2 separate regions of the Homo sapiens genome follow, and region 2 is linked to region 1. The links are contacts of gene promoters, found by promoter capture Hi-C in blood cells and fetal thymus (Javierre and others, 2016). All regions are on one chromosome and are shown on one strand. Each heading gives the region's core, a stretch centred on a gene start or on the middle of the fragment in contact. The rest is flanking DNA. Distances are from core to core; before and after follow the strand shown. Region 1 holds the start of SLC9A4 (solute carrier family 9 member A4). Region 2 has its middle 45 kb from the start of SLC9A2.

Region 1 (4,307 bases), core at 1,112-3,611:
ATCTTGGTTTATTTCCAGTGTTGTGAAAACTCAGTCTTATGAGTAAGTTGAGAGTTATCGGGGTCCAGTATTCCTAATTTGCTGTTTCTGGGGTAGATTCAGTTACATTTGCCTGCAATAGAGTCTGTTCAACATATTGCTAGGATTGGGGTAGGGCAGAGTTTGGTTACGTATGCTGACAACCTGACTTTTCTGGGTAGAAACTGTAGTCATAAACTGGGATCTGGGATTAGAGGCAGCCCCATCCTCGTGGCTACATTCATCCAGAATAGAGTTTTTCTCACATTGAGCTGAGGGGTGGGTAGAGAAAACAGGCCGTGCCTTCAGGTCTTACCAATATTTAGAAGATTTTTTTCAATTTCTGTCTGCTCTTAGGACAATTTCCAGAGACTGGATGGTTGTTTTTGATTTTTAATGATCTCACCAGTTATAGTTGTTTCACTAGGAAATCTATGGTGCTTCTTATGCTGTCATTCTAGAAGAGCTTCTCCTTTCTTCCCCCTTTCCCCTCACTTTTGCTGCCCTTAGTTTGCACTTCTCATGGAAGCTTTGTCTCACATACACTTTCTGGGGACCTTATACTAAGAAATCATTTTAGAAAGAATGTTCTGACATCTGTAAGAAAGTACTGCATGAGTGGAAGTGATGCCGATGGTTGATGAAGTGGGCTGCTACATCTTAACCTGGACCACAAGTTAGTAGACTGTTGCAGAGCTCAAGTTGTTCTCTTACCATCCTCCCAAGATTGGCATTTTTACTCTGAGAGGGACTGGACTATCAGCCATCAGGTGATCATAAGGCTAAACGGGTTGCCATATACTCACAAAATTTGGAATTTTAGAGCAGGAAAGGGTTACCAGGTATGGACAGCATCTTTATTTTATAGATGAGAAAACTATAAAGGCTCAAACTATAAGGCTCAAACAGGTAATTTTCCAAAGCCAATCAGATAACTAATGTCTGAGTACATAAGTCTTTTGATTCTTCATTTTGGTCTTTCCACAAGGCACTATGTGAGACTTGCTCCCTCATTTCTTTTTAGAAAGAAAAGTACAATAAAATGCAAATAAAAATAAAACACCTATTATAAAGCAGCTTTCTATTAAAGGATATTCATATATTCTTTGAGAAAAAATAATCGACTCAATATGTGTACCCTTCTTGTAGTCCACCTGATAGTCTCATTTCAGTGACTGAATCTAATCTATTCTGGAGTCAAACTGAAGGAAAAAGAAAAAATATTCATATGTGAACTTTTAATTCTATTGCCTCACTATGAATTTGCATCTAGGTGTTAGCCCTTCTCAACCATTCCTTTCTCAATTTCCCAGTGATGTTAGCTGAGTGTGTGTGTGTGTGTGTGTGTGTGTGTGTGTGTGTGTGTGTGTGTGTTGGCTGGGGGGAAATCCCCTGCACTCACTAATATGAACTAAGAAAAAACAAAACACAAAGCATCTTGCAGTTTGATGTAAAAGAGATGTTGGGGTAGTATATGGATGATGTATTATTCTCATTTTTTACTGAGTATCAGTAATCATTGCAAAAGTGTTGTATCTTATCCTAAAAGTATAAGAAATGTAATTTAAAATAAAAACTAACATTTAAGTGCCAACTACATGCCAAATTCTTTACTTGCTTTATCTCATTTAATGTTCCTAGCTACTCAATGAGGCAGATATTTTCCTCTCTGTTTCAGATAAGGAATTTCTGAAAGGTAATTAACTTCACCAAGGTCACCTGGCAACAAGTAGAAGAGCGAGAAGTAGGCTCATAAAAATTATCTCAAAATTCTTTCATCAACATTCTATGATGCTGCTTCTTTTTAACAACAACAAATGTTTTTTAAATGGAAAATCTGGATGTGCCATGGAGTTTTACAAATCCAGGTATTTAGGTGTATTTATGGAACTTGTTCTTTGGCTTCCTGTTTTTTAAAAATTATAGTGTAAAGTTCATAGAGATCTGGAACTTCATTCCTTCTATGAATGACTGCTCATGGAGTCTGGTAACATGCAAAAGTTTCAGTGTTTGCTACCATCCTTGTTGTTACCACCTCCTTCTTATCCTCCTTCTTCCTCATGTATAGAGACCATATAAGACAGTTTGCTGGACAATTCTGGTTTGTGCCTATAGCTTTGCATAATTATCATTATTATTCATTCCCCAAAGTGTCCTGGTTTAGATAATTTCATGGTCACCTTAACGTTCATAACTGAAAGTGTCAAGGGTGTTGTATTGCAGGTGCCCACTAGGTGTCAGCAGTGTGACCTCCAGAGAACCCTCAGAGAAAGGATTTCATTACAAAAGTCAAATCAAAGCAAATAATTAAGTGTAGTTCCAGAGCTACCTGAAGCCGTGGTCATTCAAAACAAATGAGAGGACAGGGGGAGGAGAGAAGGAACAAGCGCAGATCAGGTAGCTCCTTCTTGGGATCTGATAGACAGGGAAGGTTTCCTTTCCTCATTAGAAGGACTCCAGTGATCTGTGGAATGAGCACTACAGTATCCTTTTAAATTTTCACCCACAAGACAAAGCCAGTATGCAGTGAAATGAGGAAATGCCTTTAAGTGAAGAGATTTTTATTTCTTTCATAAATTGCTCAAGCCATGATTGGATGGAGGTCCTCCAGGTAGCTCCATGGACTTTAACAAGTCTATTGAATAACTGCATTTGAGTTGGAAGCTGAGTTGCCTGAACACAAACGATTTAAACCAGATTAGAAAGTGTCTACATACAGAGCTCAATAACACACTCGGAATCTTCTTGGGAGGACCCACAGACTGTACCTATATTACTTTTGACCCAGGTGGATGCAGTCACTCTCTAGAAGCCTCCCCGACTTCAGATGTGTGGCACACATCCACACAGGGGTGTAGGTAGGAGAAGCCCACAGGAATGGCTCTGCAGATGTTCGTGACTTACAGTCCTTGGAATTGTTTGCTACTGCTAGTGGCTCTTGAGTGTTCTGAAGCATCTTCTGATTTGAATGAATCTGCAAATTCCACTGCTCAGTATGCATCTAACGCTTGGTTTGCTGCTGCCAGCTCAGAGCCAGAGGAAGGGATATCTGTTTTTGAACTGGATTATGACTATGTGCAAATTCCTTATGAGGTCACTCTCTGGATACTTCTAGCATCCCTTGCAAAAATAGGTAAGTCCTTAAACACCTGGTTTGGTGAGTTATCTTTTTACATAAGATAGTGAATGTGAAAATGCCTTATAGATAACGGGCTAAGAGGATTTTAACTGTTACTGCTATTACATTAAAAATTCTCTTCCCTTCAGTCAAGGGAAAGTCATAACTGCATTTTACTAAGCTATTTAATACTTTGAGATTGCTCTTTGAAATTTGAGAGCATACTTCTGGGTACTGGGCTGTGTTGGTTTCTTCTCATTTCAGGGTGACAACCATGTGACATTGTTGACATGCAAAACTCTCAAATTCTATGCTTTAAAAATATAGAGAATAAAGCACGTAGACCTGGGCATGATGCAAGGTGGAAATTTCAGGAAACACATAATGTTTCTTCTGTAAAATATTCTTGGCTGTGTAATTGTGGGCTTCATCAATCACCCCATTGTTTATTCTTTAAAAGTAGCGTGTGCTTCTTGCAAATTGACAGAAAGCAAAAAACAAGAAAACCATAGGCAACTTGTATTACTCAGTGATGGGATGTCGGGGCATATAAGATTATATCTGTCAGTAAAATATTAGTTTATACCTACCAAGTGGGGCCAGTGAGGCACCTCTAATTTCCTTTGTGAAATAAAGTGAATCCAAGTTAATAGATTAAATTCCAATCAAGGGATCTTTGTGTCAAAAACCAAAGAGGTGGCTATACTCTGTGACTGTTTAATCCCTAACTGCTCCTCCTTATCTCTTTAAAACCAGCTTATTCTAAAGTGGAAAATTAATATAATTATCTCAAATGCTAAGCACAATGCCTCCTTTGCCTCAGCTATAAACTTTATGCTATTTGAGTATGTAGATTGCCTTATTGAGATAGAATCAATGAAACATTTTAATTCTCATTTATTTATATGTGTATGTTTTCTCTAGGATGGGTGTGTAATGTGGGTTGAGCCTTGAGGTCTGGCAGTTACCTTCTGTGTGCTCTGGCTATTCACTTAGCTCCCTCCCTGTGGGTGTGGGGACACTGGTATAGGTGTCCCCTTTAGACTCTCCTTTATAGTTGCTATTCATTTTGAGCTAGTAAAGTGTGAATATTAAATAGGAATGTTAGTTTGAAGAAGTCTTGTGCAATTTGCTTAGTGAATAAGTTACACAAAGGATCTTACTATATTTT
Region 2 (4,371 bases), core at 392-2,891, 100 kb after region 1:
TCTCAGACTGCTGTGCTAGCAATCAGCGAGATTCCGTGGGCGTAGGACCCTCTGAGCCAGGTGTGGGATATAGTCTCGTGGTGCGCCGTTTCTTAAGCCGGTCTGAAAAGCGCAATATTCGGGTGGGAGTGACCCGATTTTCCAGGTGCGTCCGTCACCCCTTTCTTTGACTCGGAAAGGGAACTCCCTGACCCCTTGCGCTTCCCAGGTGAGGCAATGCTCGCCCTGCTTCGGCTCGCGCACGGTGCGCACACACACTGGCCTGCGCCCACTGTCTGGCACTCCCTAGTGAGATGAACCCGGTACCTCAGATGGAAATGCAGAAATCACCTGTCTTCTGCGTCACTCACGCTGGGAGCTGTAGACCGGAGCTGTTCCTATTCGGCCATCTTGGCTCCTCCCTCTCCCCCGAAAATTCATCATTAATTAACCAGTAAGCATTAAGTTAACTGTGGAGGGGGATTAATAGACACCTGTTATCAGAGTAAGTTCTCTTCTATTTCTAATTTAAGAATTTTTACATTAATGGATTGTATATTACATCAAATGCTTTATCAGAATCTAATACAGTAATCAAATCATTTTTATTTTTTATTTTGTTAATGTAGTAAACAAATTAACTTTTTTATTAATTTTAAAATGTTGAACTACCCTTTCATTCCTGAGATAAACCCAACTTGATCATCATGTAGTAGTTTTTAATATATTCCTGGATCCTATCGCTAATATTTTTGTTGAAGATTGATGTATCTTTGTTCATGAATAATATTGGTCTACCATTATCTCTGCTTGGTAATGCCCTTAACATGTTTTGATACTAAGCTTATACTGGCTTCATAAAATGAGATGTGATGTATTTCCCTGTATCTTTTCAAAGAGTTCACATAGGTTTGGTGTTATCTCCTCATTAAATATTTGATAGGACTTGTGTGTAAAACCATCTAAACTTATAGTTTATTTGTGGTAAGGTTTTTAAACAATAAACTCAATTTCTCTAGCAGATATTAAGCCATTTGACTATTTCTTCTGAAATCACTTTTAGTGATTTGCGTATTTCAATACCTTTTTCTATTTTGTCTAAGTTGGCAAATTTATTGGCATGAGGCTGTTCATAATACCATCTTATTATACTTTTATGTCCTTTACAATCTCTAGTATGTAATAATTGTGTTTCGTCTTTCATTTCAATTTTAGTTGAAATGTAGTAATTGTACATATTTATGGATATTTGTATACAATGTGTAATAATCAAATTAGGGTAATTAGCATATCCATCAACTCAAACATTTAGCATTTCTTTGTGTTGAGAACATTCAAAAACCTCTTTTCACTATTTTGAAATATACAACAACTATGGTTAACCACAGTCACCTTGCTGTGCTATAGAAAACTGAGCTTGTTTCTCCTATCTAACTGTAATCTTGTACCCATTAACCAACCTCTCCTTATTTCCCCCTCCCCACTACACTTCCCAGTATCTGGTAACCATTATTTTACTCTCTACTTGTATGTGATTTACATTTTTAGCTCCCACATATGAGTAAAAACAGGTAGTATTTGTCTTTCTGTGCCTAGGTTCACTTAACATAATGTCTTCCAGGCTCATTTATGTTGCCCCAAATAATAGGATTTCTTTTTTATGGCTAAATAGTATTCTATTATGTACCTATACCGCATTTTCTTTATCTGTTTATCCATTGATGAACACTTAAGTTGATTCTGTATCTTGACTATTGTGAATAGTGTTGCAATAAACATGAGAATGGAGATATTGCTTTGACATACTGATTTCCTTTCCTTTGGATATGTTCCAAGTAGTGGATTGCTAAATTACATGGTATTTCTATTTTTAGGTATTTTAAATTTTATTTTTAACTGACAAATAATAATTGTACATATTCATGGGATACATAGGGATGTTTTGATATGTGTGGCGTAAAGGGATCAGGTCAGGTTCAGTAGCAAATCCATCATCTCAAACATTTATCATTTCTTTTCATAATGGCAGTACTAATTTACATTCCCACCAATAGTGTATGAGTCCCTTTTTGTCTAAATCATTGCCAGCATTTGTTATTTTTATATCTCAATGTGATTTTGATTCACATTTCTCTGATAATTAGTGAAGCTCAGTATTTTTTCATATACATACTGGACATTTGTATCTATTCAGATTATTTGCCCATTTTTAATTAGAATTTTTTGCTTTTTTGTTGTTGGGTTGTTTGAGTTTCTTATGTATTCTGGAGGTTAATCACTTTTAGGTGGATAATTTGAAAATATTTTCTCCCATTTAGATTGTCTCTTCATTCTGTTTTTTCCTTTGCTGTGCAGAAGGTTTTTAGTTTGATATAATCCTGTTTGCCTATTTTTGCTTTCATTTCCTATGCCTTTGAGGTATTATCCAAAAATTCTTTGCCCAAATCAATATTCTGAAGTATTTCTCCTATGTTCTTTTCTAGAAGCTTCATAGGTTTCAGCCTTACATTTAAGTCTTAAGTCCATTTTGAATTGATTTTTTTATATGGTGAGAGATATGGGTCTAGTTTTGTTCTTCTTTATGTGTATATCCAGTTTTCCCATCACTATTTATTGAAGAGACTGTCCTTTCCCCACTTTACATTCCTGATGCCTTGGTTGAAATCAGTTGGCTATAAATATGTGAATTTATTTCTGGGTTATCTATTCTGTTCCATTGGTCTGTGTGTATGTTTTTATGCCAGTACTATGCGGTTTTGGTTACTATAGCTTTGTAGTATATTTTGAAGTCAGGTAAAGTGATATTTCCAACTTTGCTTTTCTGCTCAAAATTGCTTTGGTCATTTGGAGTCTTTTGTGGTTCCATATAAATCTTAAGGTTTTTTTCTCTGTTTCTGTGAAGAATGTCTTTGGTATTTTTATAACAATTGCATTGAATCAGTAGATCCCTATGGATATTATAAAAATATTCTTCTAATCCATGAACATGGGATATCTTTGCATTTTTTGCTCTTTTTGATAATTTTTATAAGTGTTTTATAGTTTTCATTGTAGAGGTCTTTAACCTATTTGGTAAAATTTATTTCCAGGATTTTATTATTTTTTAGCTATCATAAATGGGATTTCTTTTTCAGATTGTTAGCTATTGGCATAGAGAAGTGCCACTGGTTTTGCATGTTGATTTTATATCCTGTGTCTTTACTGAATTCATTTATCAGTTCTAAGTTTTTTTAGTGGAGTCATTAGGTTTTGCTACATATAAGATTTTGCAGTAGACTCCCAGGATGACATTGAATAAAAGTGGTAAAAGTGGGCATTCCTATCTTGTTTTAGATATTAGTGGAAAGTTTTTCAACTTTTTCCCATTCAGTATGAAAATATTGTCATGTTAGCTGTAGGTTTGTCATATAAGGCCATTATTGTTTTGAGATATATTGCTTTGATACTTAATTTGTTGAGAGTTTCTATCATGAAAGAATATTGAATTTTATCAAATGCTTTCTCTGCATTTATTAAGATGATTATATGGTTTTTGTCCTTAATTCTGTTTATATGATGTATCATGTTTATTGAATTGTATTTGTTGAACCATCCTTACATCTCTGGGATAAATCCGACTTAATCATGGTATATAATCTTTCTGATGTTCTATTGAATTTGGTTTCCTAGTATTTTGTTGAGGACTTTTGCATGTATGTTTATTAGGGATATTGGTCTGTAGTTTTCTCTTTTTATTGTGTTTTTGTCTAATTTTGGTGTCAGGGTATACTGGCCTCATAGAATGAGTTTTAAAGAATCCTCTTTAATTGTCTGAAATTATTACAGAAGAATCAGTATTAGTTCTTCTTTAAAAGTTTGGTATAATTCAACAGTGAAGCCATCCAGTCTTGGACTTCTATTTGTTGGGAAATATTTCATTACTGATTCAATAACCTTACTCATTATTCATCTGTTTAAGTTTTCTATTTCTTCATGGTTCAGTCTTAGTAGGTTGTATGTATGCAAGAACTTGTCCATTTCTTCCAAGTTTTCTGATTTGTTGACATATAGCTGTTCATAATAGACTCTCGTGATCCTTTGTATTTTTGTGGAATCAGTTGTAATGTTTCCTTTTTCATCTCTGATTGTATTTATTTTATTATTTTATTTTATATGTTGTTTTATTTTAATCTGATTAAAATTATTTTAATTATTTAAATTTTATTTTAATCTGATTTAATTATTTATTTTCCCTTTATTTTCTTAATCTAGTTAATGGTATTTTTATTTTTGCTTATCTTATCAAAAACCAACTTTTGTTTTTGTTATTTTTATAAATTATTTTATTTTAATCTGATTAAAATTATTTTAATTATTTAAATTTTATTTTAATTATTTAAATTTATTTTATTT

What was found. Contacts are between HindIII fragments. The CHiCAGO score rates a contact against its expected background, and 5 or more counts as called.
Region 2: a contact is called between a fragment that was not itself captured here and the fragment with the promoter of SLC9A4 in region 1, in 1 of 17 cell types (M2 macrophages). The highest score is 5.2, in M2 macrophages.

The regions. Positions count from the first base shown.
Region 1 is chr2:102,470,865-102,475,171 of GRCh38, forward strand. It overlaps SLC9A4 (solute carrier family 9 member A4), which reads left to right and starts at 2,362. Exons shown (of 12, transcript NM_001011552.4): 1 at 2,362-3,151. The coding sequence starts at 2,896. The HindIII fragment of the contact is 5,984 bases long and covers 546-4,307 here.
Region 2 is chr2:102,571,982-102,576,352 of GRCh38, forward strand. No RefSeq gene overlaps it. Among named protein-coding and RNA genes, the nearest start is that of SLC9A2, 45 kb to the right of the region's middle. The HindIII fragment of the contact is 1,643 bases long and covers 821-2,463 here.